7 separate regions of the Homo sapiens genome follow, and regions 1, 2, 3, 4, 5 and 7 are each linked to region 6. Evidence: promoter capture Hi-C in 16 types of primary human blood cells and fetal thymus (Javierre and others, 2016). All regions are on one chromosome and are shown on one strand. Each heading gives the region's core, a stretch centred on a gene start or on the middle of the fragment in contact. The rest is flanking DNA. Distances are from core to core; before and after follow the strand shown. Region 1 overlaps ZNF527 (zinc finger protein 527). Region 2 has its middle 12 kb from the start of ZNF607. Region 3 overlaps ZNF875 (zinc finger protein 875). Region 4 overlaps ZNF155 (zinc finger protein 155). Region 5 overlaps ZNF540 (zinc finger protein 540). Region 6 holds the start of ZNF583 (zinc finger protein 583). Region 7 overlaps ZNF571 (zinc finger protein 571).

Region 1 (2,700 bases), core at 8-2,507, about 19 Mb after region 6:
ATCGCTTGAACCCAGGAGGTGGAGATTGCAGTGAGCCAAGATTGCGCCACTGCACTCCAGCCTGGACAACAAGAGAAAAACTCTGTCTCAAAAAAAAAAAAAAAATCAGCTGGGTGTGGTAGCTCACACCTGTATAATCCCAGCACATTGGGAGGCCAAGAAGGGTGGATCACCTGAGGTCAGGAGTTTGAGATCAACCTGGCCAACATGGCGAAACCCTGTCTCTACTAAAATTACAAAAATTATCTGGGCATGATGGTGAGCACCTGTAATCCCAGCTACTCGGGAGGCTGAGGCAGGAAAATCCCTTGTACCTGGAAGGCAGAGGTTGCAGTGAGCCAAGATCGTGCCATTGCACTCCAGCCTGGGTGACAGAGCAAGGCTCCATCTCAAAAAAAAAGCATAAAAAATCAAGGAAACGCATTCTCCCATACAGTTTTAGGAAGGAATATAGGCTGCTGACATCTTGATTTTAGCTCTGTAAGGCCTACTTTTTACTTCTGACCTCCAGAGCTACAATAAATTTGTGTTGGATTAAGCCACTAAATGTGTGCTAATTTGTTACAGCAGGAAAAAAACTAAGCAGACAACTTTTCTGGAGGGGAATGTAGCAATTCCTTATAAAACTACGTATATACGGCCGGGCATGGTGGCTCATAACTGTAATCCCAGCACTTTGGGAGGCCAAGGCTGGCACGGATCACGAGGTCAAGAGATTGAGACCATCCTGGCCAACATGGTGAAACCCTGTCTCTACTAAAAATACAAAAATTAGCCAGGCGTGGTGGCATGCGCCTGTAGTCACAGCTACCCGGGAGGCTGAGGCAGGAGAATCACTTGAACCCGGGAGGCGGAGCTTGCAGTGAGCCGAGATTGCCCACTGCACTCCAGCCTGGTGACAGAGCGAGACTCCATCTCAAACAAAAACAGTAACAAATGGACCTGAAATAACCAACCTAAGTAATTTTGGAAATAGTATTTTGACTGGACACTATAAGACTAAAACAAAAAGTACTATATACAAATACCTAAATCTAGTTGGTAAATTTGTTTCTCACAGAGAAGTAAGTTAGAAATTCTGAAACTACTTTATGTGTATACTAAAATTGAACAAATAGGTAAATATATTTTTTCTCATTATCAGAAAAAGAAATTACAAATAAGTCAAGGAGGAAGGCTACAATAAACCCTGTAAAGCAGGACTAGAAATCAAGTTATTAATATAAACTGATAGTTTTAGTATATAAAAAGATAGAGGTAATAAAAAATGGGAAAAAAAGAGGCAGAAATAAATATAGGGGTGTGTGTGTAAATATCTATCTATCTATCTATCTATCTATCTATCTATCTATCTATCTACCTATCTATCTATCTGTTTCCTAGCTTTAGCTGCTGTCAGGGCCAGAAAGAGTGATATCCCAGTAGCCTAGAGCATACCTAGCTTGGTTTCTAAACACCATTTCCCAATAAAGCAATGAGGGCTCCTTGGAGAAGTGGTTGATTCAAGGCTGGGGCAAGGAAAATAAGAGAACCTGGAATACCTTGTGCCAGAAGGAAGGACGTGCCCAAAAAATGCATGGGGGCATGTCAGAAGGTCAAAGGAACCAATGTGAAGGAGATTCCAACATTCAAAGCTGGAACGATTTGAGAAACATAATGATTCATTGGATTTACTTCATAGAAATAAAAATCCATAAATCCAAAAATAAATCCATTTAAATTTTATGAAGTCATTAAATTTTATGAGGTAAATTAGATTTACCTCATAGGAAAAAAATCCATAAATATAATTGAATATATAAGTAAATGGAGGAGAAAGAGCAGCTCTTCCTTCAGAACAATCCCAATTAATATACACAAAGAAAAGAGGGAAATGGAACAAATCAACATTAGGTTAATACCACAGTAATAATAGTTGAAGAGATCCAGCAATAAATGCTAAAATAAATGGGCAAAAATTACAGAAGAAACTGAATAATCTCAAAGTATCTCCCCCAAGATATTTATTAACTACAAATAGAAAAATAAGAACTTTATAATGGAGAAACCAAGCAGACACTACCTTCACTAAGTGTGCAAAGTTAACATCACCGATAATAAGACATATCGATATTATACATCCTTTGGAATGATGCACTGAGAGAGATACAACATTATTTCTGTGACATTCTTTGCAAAAATGCACTACCTCAATCTAATTATGAGAAAATATCAGATAAATCAGATAGATCCAAATTGAGTGCATGCAAATATAATGAGCCATTTGTGTAGAGTGAAGCGTATCTGAGGATTCCAGGAGAGATTTCTCCAAGAAGATGAAGTGGATAGATCACCTAATATGTCCAAGTATCTTGAAAGACTCAGACAATTGATGGTAAGTCGGGAACTGGATTAGGGTTATGTATATATAAACTGAGCAAAAACAAACAAACAAACAAACAAAATTCCCAAGTCATTATTAACTCCAGGAAAAATAAAAAGGAGTAGAGAAAAAGTAACTTGCCATATGCACAGCACAGCTATGACTAGCACTAAATGGCCATAATAAAATAAATGCTGAATAGTGACTTAATCAAAATGATGACATTGATAAGATAGGGGATGGGAAATGTGTGTATTTGTGTGTGTGCCTTATGTGTTGGATTCAGGAGAAGAAAGTGCTAACTCCTTATTTTCTTATAAGAAGATACCGAATAAGGG
Region 2 (2,700 bases), core at 172-2,671, about 19 Mb after region 6:
AAAGAATTGTTTAGTAACCCACCATATATGTTTACATTCATGTTATTTGCTTTATCTTATTTCAGCTCTTTTTATCCGCTTATGTATGGGTTATTTCTGTATCATTTGAGAGTAAGTTGTAGATACCATGGCCCTTTGCCTTTAAATATATGCAAATTTCCTGGATAACTGTGATACTATAATCATACTGGAAAAATGTAATAATTTATATAGTGTCTTCAAATATGTGCCCAAAGATTTTTTATAACGACTTATTTTCTAATCAGTATCCACTCTTGGTTAATTCATTGCATTTGGGATTTTTTTTTAATTTATTCCTTTTCTCTAGGATAATATCCCCACTTTTTCATGCTTTTGAATTTTTCCTTTTTTTTTTCTTTTTTTTTGAGACAGAGTCTCACTCTGTCACCAGGCTGGAGTGCAGTGGTGCGATCTTGGCTTACTGCAACCTCTGCCTCCCGGGTTCAAGCAATTCTGCCTCAGCCTCCCAAGTAGCTGGGACTACAGGCGCATGCCACCACACCCAGCTAATTTTTGCATTTTTAGTAGAGACGGGATTTCATCATGTTGGCCAGGATGGTCTGGATCTCTTGACCTTGTGATCCACCCGCCTTGGCCTACCAAAGTGCTGGGATTACAGGCGTGAGCCACCACACCCAGCCTGAATTTTTCTTTTTTAAGTACCCAAAGAATGTCCCACATTCTTGATTTCTGCTTCACAGTATGATTTAACTTGTTGCTCTGTCCCTTGTTTTCCCATAAATTGGCAGTTATGTCTAGAAAATTCATTAGGTTGAGATTTTTGTCAAGAACATCTCATGAATGATGCTGCAGACTTCTGAAAGCATATCAGGTTTTTACATGATTATTTATGCTACACTGTAAAGCTTGCTTAAAGAGGCAACTGTCAGCTCTCCATTGAACAATTCCATTTTGCATTAGTAATTTGATGGGTGCTACATTGATCCGTTAATTTGAAAACATAATCCCTTTAATTCAGGAAACAAGGATTGAAACAAAAAGATGTCATTGTATTCATCTCTCTGTGTAGCACATATGAACTGCCTGTTAAAGGTTAGACTATAAATCTGTGGATAGAAACAATGTTAATATATGAGGCTAGAAGAAAGGAAAACAAATATACCAATATTAAGAAAAAATTAATAAAACTAGATAAAGAGATTAATGATTAGGAAATAAAACTAGTTTTTATTCAAATCTTACCCCCTCCCATTTTGTGGAACATGAGCTAAATCTCTAGATATAATCAAGAAAAATTTTAAAAGAGATATGAAGAAAATGTTTTAAATTAAAAGTTAATTTTTGCCGGGCACAGTGGCTCACGCCTGTAATCCCAGCACTTTGGGACGCCGAGGCAGGTGGATCATTTGAGGTCAGGAGTTCGAGACCAGCCTGGCCAGCATGATGAAACCTCATCTCTACTACAAATACAAAAATTAGCTGGGCATGGTGGCATGCGCCTGTAATCCTAGCTACTTGGGAGGCTGAGACAGGAGAATCGCATGAACCTGGGAGGCAGAGATTGCAGTGAGCCGAGATCATGCCATTGCACTCCAGCCTGGGCAATAGAGCGAGAACCAGTCTCAAAAGAAAGAGTTAATTTTTGATGTTTATACCAAAATATTTAGCAATCTCTAATGTATTTTGAGAAGGAATTATATTTGTGAAAGAATATAGTTTTTCAAAATGACATAGATATTGTAGGAAATCGGAATTTTTAAAACATGATTGAAAACAAGATGAGTTTCACTCATTAGGGTAAATGGAAAATTTCTGAGTATGATATCAGCAAACTCTAAGATTCTTTTAAAATAATTGTGCAATAGTCATTTTTCTGGCAGAGTCAATTCATTCTTCTGGTTCAATATATTCTAGACAAATGAAAGAAAAGGAATGTTGATCTGTGTTTATCCTTGTAATTTTTCTAAGCTTTATATACAGTTTTATAAATGGGATGAATTATGTGCACGATACCATCAATTCTAAAAACTACCTTTTTAAAAACCTTTTGGAAATCAGGATTGCAGTTGATAACTACCTAAACTCACTTCCAGCCCTATAAAAATTACTTTTCCAAACTAAGGAGCATCACGCATTATGCATTGTCAGCCAAAGTTCTGTAGTGTCAGCGTGATCATTCGTTGTGTCTGTAGTGTCAGCGTGATCATTCGTTGTGTCTGTAGTGTCAGCGTGAACATTGTGTCTGTAGTGTCAGCGTGATCATTTGTTGTGTCTTTAGTGTCAGCGTGATCATTCGTTGTGTCTGTAGTGTCAGCGTGATCATTCGTTGTGTCTGTAGTGTCAGCGTGATCATTCATTGTGTCTGTAGTGTCAGCGTCATCATTGTGTCTGTAGTGTCAGCGTGATCATTTGTTGTGTCTTTAGTGTCAGCGTGATCATTCATTGTGTCTGTAGTGTCAGTGTGATCATTCGTTGTGATCTACATGCTCATATCCCTTTTGTCCACAAAGGAAATAATTCGCCTTTAAATATTAACATCATTTCCCCTATGCAATTTTAAGTTTTGATAATGAAATAAAACACAATGCAGAATGATTTTGCTATAGGTTAGATGACCACTGTACTTGATAATTGAAAAATGGTTTATGTTCTTAGACAAGCCAATGAAGCAATCTCCTGCTCTTGGAACAAACAAAAACCACATGATTAACCTCTCAC
Region 3 (2,700 bases), core at 199-2,698, about 19 Mb after region 6:
AGCTCTGCCCACATTCCTTGCACACATAAGGCTTGAGCCCTGAGTGTGTCCGCTGATGTGTAAAGAGGTTCGACTTCCAAGTAAAGCCTCGTCCACAATCCTTGCACACATAAGGTTTCTCCCCTGAGTGTGTCCTCTGATGTGTGATCAGGTTTGACTTCCACGTAAAGCCTCGCCCACATTCCCTGCACACATAAGGCTTTCCCCCAGAGTGTGTCCTTGGGTTTTTGATGAGGACTGACATACTGCCAAAGCTGTCTCCCCACTCAGTGTACATGTAAGGTGTCTCCCCAGTTTGTGTCTTCTGGAGGCTAAGGAGGTTTGACTCCTTGATAAAGCCTGGCCCAAACTCTTCATATTTGATTTCTCCAAATCCTGAGACTTCTAAACCATGCAATACTTTGTCTGTTTCCTCTAGATCTGCCCTCCGTTCAGGGCTGGACCCTATATCCACCACTGTGTTGTCTTCCTTGGACTGTGCTGGCTGTTGTTCTTCAGGTGGGCTGGAAAGTGCCTTTGAAGTGCCATTTTTGCTTACTCTCCCAAACAGGAGTCTGGAGTCTTCTCCCTCTTGAATCCATTCTGCTTTGCCACTAAAGCAGAATGGATCCTGCTGTTGTTTCTGATCTTCTGGATAGTGTTTTCCCAGGTGGAGAGGATTTCCTGCCCATAAACTTGAAAACAGCTGAGAGAGATGACTCAGCCACACATGTTGGCTGAGAGCTTGCTGACTGGAGAAAATCAGAGGGCAGGAGGGACTAAGTTGAATTTCTGGCTTCGATTCTGCTGAAGAAAGAACATTTTCAGAGGGGCCATAGGTAGGGCTGTGTAGGCAATTTTGCCTTGCCCACTGGTCATTCATAATATATTTACATATTTACATCACAAGCTATCTCCCAGTTAGACATCCTTCCCAGCATCTATTTTTCATTTCACTTCATGCATTACACTTTCTTTTGTTTTTTTGTTTTTTTTTTTAAACGGAGTCTTTCTTTCACCCAAGCTGGAGTGCAGTGGTGCGATCTCAGCTCACTGCAACCTCCGCCTCCAGGGTTCAAGCGATTCTCCTGCCTTAGCCTCCCGAGTAGCTGGGATTACAGGCGTCCAAGACTACGCCCAGCTAATTTTTGTATTTTTAGTAGAGACAGAGTTTTACCGTGTTTGCCAGGCTGGTCTTGAACTCCTGACCTCAGGTCAGCCTAAGCCTCCCAAAGTGCTGGGATTACAGGCATAAGCCACTGTGTCTAGCCCTATGCATTACATTTTCTATTGCAGGAGTTGGCAAACTCACCTGACAGGCCAAATCCAGCCTGAAACCTGTTTCTGTATGGCCTGCCAGCTAAAAATGGTTTTTACCTTTTTAAGGGGTTGAATTCAAAAGAGGGAGACACAGAAAAGAGAAAGAGAAAGGAAGGAAGAAGAAGGAGGAGGAGGAGGAGAAGGAAAAGGAGAAGAAGAAAGAAGAAGTGGCAAATATTGCACGTGTTCTCAAAAACTTATGACGCCTGTAGTCCCAACACTTTGGGAAGCCGAGGCGGGCAGATCACGAGGTCAAGAGATTGAGACCATCCTGGCCAACATGGCGAAACCCTGTCTCCACTAAAAATAGAAAAATTAGCTGGCTATGGTAGCACACACATGTAGTCTCGGCTACTTGGGAGGCTGAGGCAGGAGAATCGCTTGAACCCCGGAGGCGGACGTTGCAGTGAGCTGAGATCGTGCCACCACACTCCAGCCTGGTGACACAGTGAGACTCTGTCTCAAAAAAAAAAAAAAAAAAAAGGAGAAGACAAACAAAATGAGGAGAAAATAAATGAAAGGCATCTTAACTAGAAAGGAAGAAGTAAAAAAAATCTCTTGTTCACAGATTATATAATTTTGTAAGCATAAAATTTCAAAAAAGCAACTAGAAGTCATAATTGTACTTAGGTCATATAAGATAAATATATAAAAAATAATTATATTTCTATATACTAGCAATGACTATTCTAAAAATGAAACTGAGAAAACAATACTATTCACGATAGCATAAAAATAATAAAATGCTAAGGAATAAATGTGACAAAGTAGCACAAAGTTTGTAAACTGAAAATTAAGGCTGGGCACGGTGGCTCATGCCTGTAATCCCAACACTTAAGGAGGCTGAGGTGGGAGGATTGCTTGAGGCCAGAAGTTAGAGGCCAGTTTGGGCAACATAGTGGGATGAAAGAAAGAGAAGAGAAAGAGAAAAGGAAAGGAAAGGAGGAAAAGAAGAAAGATTTTTAAAAAGAAAATTAACAAACATTGTTGAATGAAGTTAAAGCTCCAAATAAATAGGGAGACAGTCATAGATTGGAAGGCTTACTATTATTAAGATGGTGATTCTCACCAAAATTTATCTGCAGATTCAACATAATCATGGTATCACAACCACAGCAGGCTTTTGGTTTTTTTCCCTTTTGGAAATTCACAATCTGATCCTAAAACTTACATTGAAATTCAAAGGACATAAAATAGACAAAACAATTTCTGAAAAAGAAAATAAAGTTGGGGAGTGTATACTTCTAACTTCAAAACTTAATATAAAGCTACAGTAATGAAGATAGTGTGCTACTGTCATAGGAGGAAGATGGAGATCATGGAACAAAATCAGGAGACTAGAAATGAACACTTAGATTCACAGTCAGCTGATTTTTGATAAAGGTGCCAAGGTAATTCAAT
Region 4 (2,700 bases), core at 115-2,614, about 12 Mb after region 6:
AGACCACAGCCACATCCTTGAAGGTCACTGCCTCCTACAACATCAAGAAGACATAACTTCAATCTTATGACCAAGGACTACTGGGGGAGAAGCGGCATTGAGCAGGGGAAGGGGATGAGTGGAAAGTTGTTCTCAGTATTGAGGGATGTAGGTCAACTTAGAGATTTCCCACTCATTCTGTCTATATCCTGACAATGACACATACTGATTTTCCTGAACTCCACCAGAAGTGCAATGATGAAGTCTCATACATTTATTCTGTGCACTCATTGAGTCTACTTGTATGTAACCCTCTAGGACTCTACATGCTGCATCCTGAGCTACCCATATATAGGTTCGACACATCTTGCCAACTGCCCCAGCAACATTAAACAATTCAGTCCCAACTTTGTTGGGTCCTCCTCTCTCGTACTCAAACCCTGGATGCTATTGCTTTTCTTTAGTATTTGCTAAACTAACAAGTTTTAGGTAACTGTGGGTAATTTTCAGGGTGGCCTTGAATCATTCTTTCTTGTGTATAGTTTTGAAGAATAAACATAGAACATGCTAGCAATGCAATGTTCCTGTCCTTCCTAGGGAAGATAATGTCTTGAGTTAGGGAGAAAGTGCCCAGTAAGTCGTATTGCCCCGGAGGTATATAACCTCGGGTGGGCTGCCTTCTGGGGTACCTCTGCTCTGGTGGAAATGGGGTCAAGATTCTACCCACCCCAGGACGTTTTCTTCAGCCTTGGATGGCCACCTCACAGTGTATCCTACACTCCTGTGCTCCCTTGCTGCCAATTTGTAGATAACAAATCTGCTTCACGTAATCTGTTGAGTGAGATCGTGTTCTGTCTCACAGGACTCACACAAGTTGGTAATCAGTGCACAGTGAACCTACTCCACAGTACCAGTGTGGACAGCTGAGTGGGACAGTTATGTAGTGTGTCCTCTACTCTCAAGGTACAAACCACAAATGTTAATTGCAGCCTTCAGTGTCCTGATCAGAAGCCAGAATGCATCACTGTACATCCTAAGGGTCTGCCCCTTCCTAACTGTGTGGCCTTAGACATGTTTGCCTACAGGATTTACTTTCCTCTCTAAATAATAGTCCTTATTTGGCACAGTATTTTAAAGGATTAAACAAGGAAATACATAGCATTTGGAAACATCTGTGCCACTGTTTAATGAACATTAGCTGGAATCTTTTTTACTGTTGTTACTAGCATTATCTATTTCATGGCTGCATAGTATTCCAGAGATCTGATGACCTACTTTTAGCTACAGTAAAGAATATTTAATTTTACATATTTTCCATTATCAATCCTGTAAAGAGCATCATTAAGTAATGATGTAGCAAGATGTAAGAACATCTTACTCTCTCATTGTTTAAAATAATAATTTCAAATGAAAATTAAAACATCAAAAAATAAGCACATTTAGAACTGTGATCATATAACTGCATGCTTTCTTCCCAGTTTTTTACCTACCTCCATAATCTTTGAACAGAATACAAGTACTTTGCTTCTCTTTATCATGACCAAGAGCAGGTTATAAGTATTCCCACAGTCTTGGTAATCTGATTTGGGGAACAAATCATTCTATTATTCTCACTTATTTGATTACAAATGAAAACCATCACTTTTCAAGGTTATTGGCCATCTCTACTTCTCCTTTTACATTGGCCTTTTAGTGTCCTTTGTTCCTATCTGTTTGGAGTTTTTCCTTTATTCTGTGCTCAAGGTTTTGATTTTGAATTTTATTTTCTTTAGGTATCCACGTGGCTAACATTTCTGCCCCAGGTCATTATTTCTTCTGGTAACATTGTGTGAGGCATCTTTTGCCAAAAGGGATTTAAAGATTTTCTATAACAACTATGGTAATCAGTATACTTCAGTGCCTGGAGTAGATGCCATGTCATAGTGACATGTGACAAGAAGTCACACCAAGTAGGGACAGGGAGGAGCAGCACCACTAGGGACACCATCACTCCACAGGGCACTCCAGACATCCACATCACAGGGCACAGGTTGCTCAATGGAGAATTCTGTCTCTCTCCTTGTTTCTCTTTTTCACCTGAGCCGAATGGCTAACACTCCTGACCTTTGGTTGCCTGTGTACACCTGAGAAGGTTTCTCATATTTCACCTGTTCAAGAAGAAGAAGAGACCAGGAACCTCATTCCGCTGCGCTGAGGAGTAAATGTAGTAACAGAACACAAGTGATTGGCAAAACTTAGTATCACTGGACATTTTAAATGAAGGCTTTCTACTGCTTTGGTTAAACTGCTTACTACATAAATGAATAAGAAGAGACCAGTAAATAAAGCACATGCAAAGTATGACTGAGACAAGGAGAACACAGAATCTAGCTCTTCCAGTGTGAAAACTCCAACAATATTTGTGTGGTGCAGCAGTTACATCCTTTTGTTCTGTGCCTAGTTAAAATATTCTATCTGCAAAACAGCCAATGTGGTACATATCAAAAGTACCCTTTCAAAATTGAGCTAAAATGGCATATGGTTTTCAAAATTAATTTTGTGGGAAAAGGTTATGTATAGGAAAGCTGTCACTGCAGTGTTGCTTAAAATATGTCTATGAGCGTGAGGTAGTTATAAATAAAAAGATACATCAATGTAATAGGAATATGATGTAACCATAAAAATGGAAGATTATATAACATATAAAAAGAGCACAGTTTACAATTAGATGTATATCATCAA
Region 5 (2,700 bases), core at 176-2,675, about 19 Mb after region 6:
CTGCCTCAGCTTCCCGGGTAGCTGGGATTACAGGCACACGCCACCACACCCGGCTAATTTTTGTATTTTTAGTAGAGACGGGGTTTCACCATGTTGGTCAGGCTGGTCTCGAACTCCTGACCTCGTGATCCACCCACCTCGGCCTCCCAAAGTGCTGGGATTACAGGCATGAGCCACCGCACCCAGCCCAGTTTCTTTTTTTTTAAATAAAGTTTTTACAGGTGTGTACCACCATGCCTAGCTAATTTTTGTATTTTTAGTAGAGACAGGGTTTGCCATGTTGCCCAGGTTGGTCTTGAACCCCTGGGCTCAAGCGATCCGCCTGCCTTAGCCTCCCAAAGTGCCGGGATTACAGGCATGAACTACTGCGCCCAGCCCAGTTTCTTATATATACTTATATAATCCATGAATCCCACCCTCAGGTGTTTAACCCGAGGTAACAAAGCATACATTAAAACAAAGACTTGTAAACAAGCACTCATAATAGCTTTATTCATGCCTGCGAAAGACTAGAAACAACTTAGATGTTCATAAACTGTTAACTAATAAGCAGATATGAAATACTATTCAGCAAGAAAAAGGAATTAACTACTGAGACTTCTAACTACTTGGATGAATCGCATAAATATCAGAAGTAGAAGTAGTATGACACAGAATACTGCATATTCTGATTTATTTGATATGAAATTGTAGAAAAGACAAAATTAGGGAAAGAAGGCAACTTAGTTGCCTGTCACGGGCTGAGCTGAAAGTGGGGGAAGGGTACTGACTGTAAAGAAACATAATGGAAAGTTTTGACATGATAGACATGTTCTACATCTTGACTGAAGTGGTGATGATTACAAGACTCACGTGTTTGTCCAAAATAATTAAACAGATACAATTAATGAATTTTATTCTATATAAATCATATCTCAATAAAGCTGATTTGAAAAAAAATAGTAAGGCTGGCCAGGCGCGGTGGCTCATGCCTGTAATCCCAGCACTTTGGGAGGCCGAGGCGGGCGGATCACAAGGTCAGGAGATCGAGACCATCCTGGCTAACACGGTGAAACCCCATCTCTGCTAAAAATACAAAAACTTAGCCAGGCGTGGTGGTGGGCACCTGTAGTCCCAGGTACTCCAGAGGCTAAGGCAGGAGAATGGCGTGAACCCGGGAGGCGGAGCTTGTAGTGAGCCGAGATCGCACCACTGCACTCCAGCCTGGGCGACAGAGCGAGACTCCGCCTTAAAAAAAAAAAAAAAAAAAAAAAAAAAAAGTAAGGCTATTTTCCAAAGCTCTATGTAATGCTCTAAACAAAATAATCCTGTATATTCCAGAATAAAAAATTTTAAGGAAACTATTAATTTCCTGTATTGACCACAGAAGAAATAAAAAGCCTAAGCAAATGAAATTCCATTGTGAAACACCTATCCTTGCAAACAATTTCATAGACGTCTATCAAAGTTTTAAAGAACAGATAATTTTAAAGTTAGTTTAGCTACTCGAGAAAAGAGCAAAAAGAAAAGTTATCTTATCCTTTTTATAAAATTATGATAAGCAAAACAACTAAGCAGAATTAAGAACTTTAGAGGCAAACATTTTTAAGAAAGAATGAAAAACTATCATGATTTGCAAATGATCTGATTATATACAGCCCAAGAATTTCAACTAAAAAAAATCTGCAAATAAAATACAAATCAGAATTTGGCTTGATATAGAGGAATCAACATACTATATAGAACTTAATAGCCTTTTCTTCATAGTTTTAAAAATGCATTATTTTTTACATTGACAGATAAATTTTATGTATTTACTCTGTACAACATATTTTGAAGAATATATACATTGTGAAATGACTAAATCTGGTATACAGTAAATAATCAATGTTAACTGTTATTATTATTAACTCCTGATTAACAGAAAATAAAAAGTGAACGAGCTATTGAGATGCAAGTAAACTGAACACCAGTATTCAAAATATATTTACATCTTTCACCTCAAACATAACTCTCCTTTCCCTCCTGCCAATTCTTAGCTGATGATCTCCCTTATTCCTCTAATAAAAATGAAGCATTGAAAAGAAATACATAATACCACATCAATCAACCCACCTATATCCATTGTCGTATCTATAGTTCTCTAAATTTTTCTTGTGCACTGGATCCTACCTCCTTGTCCTCCAATTTCCATAATTATCCTTCCCTCTACTACAATTTTTCCCCTTTCTATAGAATCATTTTCATCTTAAAATCTCACATCTTGAAATAGACTCCTGGCCAGGCATGGTGGCTCACGCCCAGCACTTTGGGAGGCCAAGATGGGTGGATCATCTGAGGTCAGGAGTTCAAGACCAGCATGGCCAACATAGTGAGACCCCGTTTCTACTAAAATACAAAAATTAGCCAGGCGTGGTGGCAGGCGCCTGTAATACCAGCTACTCAGGAGGCTGAGGCAGGGGAATTGCTTGAACCCGGGAGGTGGAGGTTGCAGTGAGCCGAGATCATGCCATTGCACTGCAGCCTAGGCAACAAGAGCAAAACTCTGTCTCAAAAAAAAAAAAAAAAAAAAGACTCCTTACATCCCATATCCTCTTCTAGCTACTAACCTCTTATCTAGTTCCCTCCTAACAGATTTCCCATTAGAAAAGTTTTCTATCTCACTGTCATCACTGCCTCACCTCCCATTTTATTTCAGCCACATCTAGCAGGCTTTTTTCA
Region 6 (2,700 bases), core at 196-2,695:
TTGAGCACAGTGCTTAATTTTCATCTTTCTGTCATTTATTTTCATAACCAGCACATGGTAGGTCTCCCATTCCTTTTTCCTTTTAAATTCCTCACGTGCCCCCAGAGACTGAGAGGGATGGAAAAACTACTGTGCCAGAGGACAAGCAGCCAGCGTGGTCAGCTTTTCAGGCTTAAGGCTGAGGCTCCTGTCTGTCTCTCCCTTTTCAGCTCTCGTCCCTCCCTTTCTCCATCTTTTCCCCTTTATCTCAATCTTTCTGTCTCTCCACCACAACAGCAGTCTCCCAAACCCCAGAGCACACCAGCATCTCCAAGCACCCACACAGCTTCCTGCCCACACAAATCACAGACAACAAACCACATAGTTTCTCATTCTGGCACCTCCCCTGGCAACCTATGGACATGCCCCCACATTGTAGCCCGCCCTGCTCTCACAATGGGTCATATAAGGCCATTCTCAGTCACACTGTCACACTCACTGTCGGGATGACATACAGTGCTAAGTCACACCATCTCCCTCAGTCTCACATAATCACACACACTGTCATGCACAATCTCAAACACTGTCACATACAATCTTAGTCCAACAACAAAAACTCTGTTCACATACAGTTTCACATACAGTGACACAGTCTCACACACTGTCACACAAATTCTGTCGCAGTTTCATGTGGTCCCATATCAACAGCCACACACCGTACACAACCACACATAGCCTCACACACGGTGACATGGTCTCACATACTGTCACAGTCTCATCTAATCCTACACACACGGTCAAGCTCTGTTCACAAAGTCACACACACTGTCACACAGTCTTACATTATCCCACACACACAGGTCACACACACAGTGACATGGTCTTACACACTGTTCACACGTGGTCTACACATAATGACAGTTTAACACTGTCACACATTCCCAGTCTCACACATGGTGACGTGGTCTTAAGCACATACAGTGTCACACAGTCCCACACGGTCCCATATACTGTCAAAGGCTCCCGCATACACCGGGGCAACGGTCTCATACTGTCGCACACATTCTCACACCCAGTCTCATACTGTCACACATAGTCCCACATTTGTCCCACATGGTCTCACACTGACACACATATTCACACACGGCCTCACATTCTCACACTGTCACACACGGTCTCAAATTCTCACACAGTCACACATGGTCTCACACACGATTCCACACTGTCAAACACATTGTCACACACGGTTCCTTAATGTCTCACACATTCTCACACACTGTCACACACGGTCCCACACATGGTGGCATGGCCGCTCCCGGCGTCAGCTCCATCCCGCGCTCCTCACCGCCTCCTCCCTCCAGTGGGCACCTCCTTCGGCGCGGTCCTTGGAGGCCGGGGCTGGGCCAGGGCCCGGGCCAGGGCTCGATCCTGGCCGGCGGCCGCGCTCACAAAGGCGCCGCAGCCCTAGGGCAGGCCGCAGGGGCCGCTGGGAAATGGAGTCCGGGGCCGGCGCGGCGCAGAGGATGCTGGGATGTTGGCCGAGGGCCCCGGGCGGCCGCAGATCCCGCCGCTCAGTTGCGGGTAGTTACTGCTGCGCCCCTTTCCCTAGTAAGCCCACCTCCGCTGGCCTTCAGAATCCCACCCGGACCAGCTGAGCCCTCTCAGGCCGTTCGACTGTCCGCTCCCCCACCCGTTCCACCCGTTCCACCTGCGCAGGCGCAGCTGGTTCAGGTCCCCAAAGGCTGCCAGGCCGGGGTGCCAGCGCGGTGAGGCGCACGCGCAGTGACCGCGTCCGCGCTCCAGCGCTCCGGGTGGGGCTGTGAGTCCATCGCTGAGAAAAGGGAGCTGGAGGACCAGTGTGGAGCCTGAGCCAGCTGGAGAGGGGCCCGGTAGGATGTACGTGTGATTAAGCGCTCTGGCGGCCCGGGCTTTCTCTTTCCCTTTCTGTTTCTTCTCTCTCCGCCTTGCCCTGTCTTTCATTCGCCACTTATTGAGCGCCTGCTGTATCGGGCACTGTCGTGGGCCCTGGGCACACAGCAGTGAACAAGCAGACAAAATCCCCACCTCATGGAGCAGCATTCTAATGCGGGAGGAATTCAATAGGAAAAAATTAATAATAAAGGACACTGATGCATATTGGGAAGTAATGCGTATTATCAAGAAAAGCGAAGCAGAGTATTAAGATCATTCTTTCAGTTCTTCATTCTTTCAGTTATGCCCTCTGAATCAGTGGAAAAAACGCAAGGTGCATTTTTTTCTATTATCTCAACGACAACTAATCATAACAGAAGACTTTTCTGACCAAATATAGGGGAGTTTCCCACACATCTCAAGCAAGCAATGAGTTCAGTGAGTTCTGCAGCGGGCACCAGCTGGGTGTCCTCCAGTTTAATTCCGACGCCGTCTACTTGGAGATGGGTCAGACACCATTCGCTGAGGGCTCAGTCCCCAAGCCTGCCTCCCCCTTCCCACTTCCCACTAAAGTCTAGCCTCTGGAACATCTGACTCCACCACCTTCAAATTGGGATTTTCACCACCCCCTCTTTGCGGTTCGATATTTTGCTAGAGTGGCTCACGGAACTCAGGAAACACTTATGTTTACTAGTTTATTATAAAGGATATTACAAATGATATAGATGAAGAGATGCGTAGGGCAAAGTACAGAAAAAAGGGTGTTGCACCTTCCAGTAACCTCCACATGTTCAGCTGGGTGGAAGCTCT
Region 7 (2,700 bases), core at 200-2,699, about 19 Mb after region 6:
TTTGTTGTTTCAGTTGTTGGTGACTTTCAGGGATGTGGCCATTGACTTCTCTCAGGAGGAATGGGAATGCCTGGACCCTGCTCAGAGGGACTTGTACAGGGATGTGATGTTGGAGAACTACAGCAACCTGATCTCATTGGGTAAGATCATCCTACGTAATATTCAGAATTTGTTCCCCATAATTTCTGCCTCATTCATTGTGAATTTCTGATCTCCATTCCCTAAGGAAAGGCTTACGTTTGAGTAGAAGTAGAAATGGACAGCTCCACCGTGTACCTTTTTATCTCTTATCCTTTAGACTGTCACATCTTTCTCTGTCACTTCCTGTCAGTGTCTCCCTTCTTTGATGCCAATGGACTAGATTTGAATCTGGGAATCCCCTAGCATGACCATGCACCATTTCCTTTCTTTTAAGCTGTATGTGCAGTCCCTAAGCCAAATATACTTTCCTTACTGGAGCAAGGAAAGGAGCCCTGGATGCTGATGAGAACCATGACATAAAGACAGAGCTCAGGTGAATAAAGGCTGGTCACAGTGTCAGCTATTGCTAATAATACAGCTGATCCGTAGGTGGCAGCACTTTGAGGTGTGTGCCTGAAGCTCTCTTCAAAGGCCTGTGGAAAGAAGGCTTGAGACATAGGGAGAGCAGGAAGGTTATGTGTGTGAGTTCCCCGTGGAACCTCCCTCCCAACTCCCATTTGCCACTCTTCTGTTTTACATTCCCTTTTTGTTTTAATAAGGGAGCTACCTTTGGTCTGATCTCTTTTGGGGACAATGCTTTTATCTATTTTTTGAATTACGTTTTTCCTGGTTGCTCTTTTATAGTTAAACTTGGATAAGTATCTCTAGCCAGCACATACGTACTGAGAGCTTGCTACGTTCATAGGTTAGGAGGACCAGGAATGATAGCTCAGGGGAGGTAACATTTGAATTAAGACCTGAATAAAGTTGGCTGTAAATCAGGGAAAGGTGTGTTCAGGCAGAGGGAAGAGAAGATCCTGAGAGAAACTGAGCTTCACTTGTTTGAGAATCAGCAAGAAGGCCAGTGTGGCTACTGAAAGTGGAAATTTGAGGTGAGGTTAGAGAAATAGGCAGAGGTCAAATCATGTAGGACCTTGTTGGTTGTTGCAAGCAGTGAGATTTTATTCTAAGTGTGATAGGGAGCCCCTGGCTGACTTTTTGCAGACAAGTAAAGGATCTTTGTTTAGAGGTCACTGAGTGCTATGTGAACAGTGAGGATAAAAATGAAAGCAGGAAGACTAATGAGAGGACTAGTTCAGAAGTTCACACTAGAGATAACAGTGGCTTGGAATTGGGTTTAATATGTGGAGGTGATGAGAACAGGCTATATTTTGAAGGTAGAATTAATACCTTCATAATGGAGTTATTTTGAAGATTGGCAATAGAGGCATCAGGGTTTGGAAGGCTGGAGAAGGAAGTCAAGAGTTACGTATTTGATATGCTCATTAGATATCTGTGTGGTGAAGTTAGATAAGCATTTGGAAGCCTGTGGGTGGAGGGGATAGTCAGGACTGAAGAGATAAATATGGGATTACTCTCTGTACCGAGGAACTGAATGAGATTATGGAGCGAATTGGTTTAGACGGAAGGCAAGGTACAGCTCAAGGACTGAACCATGGGGTGTTCCAACATTCAGTCAGGAAAACAATCTAGCAAAGGAAATTGAGGACTAACCTGAGTAACCTGTGACCTAGGAAGAGGGAATGCAGTGTATTGGAAGCCAACTGACAAAAGGAGGAAGCAGTTAGCTGAGAGAGATAATGCTAGGAGTTCAAGTAAGAGGAACGCTGAAAATTGGCTATTGGATTTGGCAGGATGAAGGGTGTTGGTGACCCTGACAAGGTGGGTTTGGCAATGAGAGGAACAAAAACCTCATTGTGGAGTATTTAAAAGAGAGTGAGAAAGAAGTAAGTCAACAATAAAAACTAGAGTGGGACAGTGAATTAACTCACCAGGCACTGTTGAAGGCCCATTTGAGGAACCCTCAAAGTTACAAATAGAGTTTACAATATTTTAGAAGGTTTTAAGAACACTGTAATAATTAGGGGAAAGAAGTGTGATTAGAGTTTATATATGCAGTATTATTTCAACTACATAAAAATCCATGGAACAAATTTAGGAAGGAAATATGGCAAAATGTTAATTATGGTGGTAGGAGAGAAAGAAAAGCAAAAGGTATAGACAGGAAGCATGCATACCTCTTGAGAAGTTTTGCCATTCTCCTGGTTCACCCTGCAGCTCCTGTCCACTGCAGGGTGAACCACAGAATCAGGAGAGGTTTTTGTTTTTTGTTTTTTTTTCACAGGAGAATCTTTAAAATGGTGGTAGGCTGGGCACAATGGCTCAAGCCTGTAATCCCAGTACTTTGGGAGGCTGAGGTGGGTGAATTGCTTGAGCCCAGGAATTCAGGACCAGCCTGGGCAACATAGCAAAACCCCATCTCTACTTAAAATAAAAATTAGCAGGGCATTATGTCACATGCCTGTGGTCCTAGCTACTTGGGAGACTGAGTTGGGAGGATCATTTGAGCCCCGAGGTCGAGGTTGCAGTGAACCATGATCACGCCACTGCATTTCAGCCTGGGCGACAGAGCAAGACCATGTCTCCAAAAAAAAAAAAAAAAGAAAGAAAGAAAGAAATGGAGATAAAATGCTGGAGGGGTGGTATAAAGGTAAATGA

The links. The method cuts DNA at HindIII sites, captures the fragments that hold promoters and counts their contacts. A CHiCAGO score of 5 or more calls a contact.
Region 1: a contact is called between a fragment that was not itself captured here and the fragment with the promoter of ZNF583 in region 6, in 3 of 17 cell types (non-activated CD4 T cells, naive CD8 T cells and total CD4 T cells). The highest score is 11.6, in non-activated CD4 T cells.
Region 2: a contact is called between a fragment that was not itself captured here and the fragment with the promoter of ZNF583 in region 6, in 2 of 17 cell types (total CD8 T cells and total CD4 T cells). The highest score is 8.5, in total CD8 T cells.
Region 3: a contact is called between a fragment that was not itself captured here and the fragment with the promoter of ZNF583 in region 6, in 1 of 17 cell types (naive CD8 T cells). The highest score is 8.1, in naive CD8 T cells.
Region 4: a fragment that was not itself captured here is called in contact with the fragment with the promoter of ZNF583 in region 6 in 1 of 17 cell types (activated CD4 T cells); the score reaches 5.9 in activated CD4 T cells.
Region 5: a contact is called between a fragment that was not itself captured here and the fragment with the promoter of ZNF583 in region 6, in 2 of 17 cell types (naive CD8 T cells and non-activated CD4 T cells). The highest score is 10.0, in naive CD8 T cells.
Region 7: a fragment that was not itself captured here is called in contact with the fragment with the promoter of ZNF583 in region 6 in 2 of 17 cell types (total CD4 T cells and non-activated CD4 T cells); the score reaches 8.4 in total CD4 T cells.

Annotation. Positions count from the first base shown.
Region 1 is chr19:37,380,945-37,383,644 of GRCh38, reverse strand. The region is part of intron 4 of ZNF527 (zinc finger protein 527); the gene reads right to left. Among named protein-coding and RNA genes, the nearest start is that of ZNF527, 11 kb to the right of the region's middle. The HindIII fragment of the contact is 4,583 bases long and covers 1-2,700 here.
Region 2 is chr19:37,730,642-37,733,341 of GRCh38, reverse strand. No RefSeq gene overlaps it. Among named protein-coding and RNA genes, the nearest start is that of ZNF607, 12 kb to the right of the region's middle. The HindIII fragment of the contact is 1,063 bases long and covers 890-1,952 here.
Region 3 is chr19:37,360,192-37,362,891 of GRCh38, reverse strand. It overlaps ZNF875 (zinc finger protein 875), which reads right to left. Exons shown (of 5, transcript NM_001353803.2): 5 at 1-783. Among named protein-coding and RNA genes, the nearest start is that of ZNF527, 9.6 kb to the left of the region's middle. The HindIII fragment of the contact is 7,616 bases long and covers 1-2,700 here.
Region 4 is chr19:43,988,882-43,991,581 of GRCh38, reverse strand. ZNF155 (zinc finger protein 155) reads right to left here. Exons shown (of 5, transcript NM_198089.3): 3 at 1-34. Among named protein-coding and RNA genes, the nearest start is that of ZNF155, 6.0 kb to the right of the region's middle. The HindIII fragment of the contact is 3,880 bases long and covers 1-2,700 here.
Region 5 is chr19:37,602,856-37,605,555 of GRCh38, reverse strand. The region is part of intron 4 of ZNF540 (zinc finger protein 540); the gene reads right to left. Among named protein-coding and RNA genes, the nearest start is that of ZNF540, 9.3 kb to the right of the region's middle. The HindIII fragment of the contact is 7,334 bases long and covers 1-2,700 here.
Region 6 is chr19:56,403,077-56,405,776 of GRCh38, reverse strand. It overlaps ZNF583 (zinc finger protein 583), which reads right to left and starts at 1,445. Exons shown (of 5, transcript NM_152478.3): 1 at 1,325-1,445. RefSeq lists a silencer at 1,212-1,421 and an enhancer at 1,882-2,021. The HindIII fragment of the contact is 8,045 bases long and covers 1-2,700 here.
Region 7 is chr19:37,581,411-37,584,110 of GRCh38, reverse strand. ZNF571 (zinc finger protein 571) reads left to right here. Exons shown (of 4, transcript NM_016536.5): 3 at 14-140. All of the region lies in intron 5 of ZNF571-AS1 (ZNF571 antisense RNA 1), which reads right to left. It also overlaps a transcript of ZNF540 not described here. Among named protein-coding and RNA genes, the nearest start is that of ZNF571, 12 kb to the left of the region's middle. The HindIII fragment of the contact is 5,270 bases long and covers 1-2,700 here.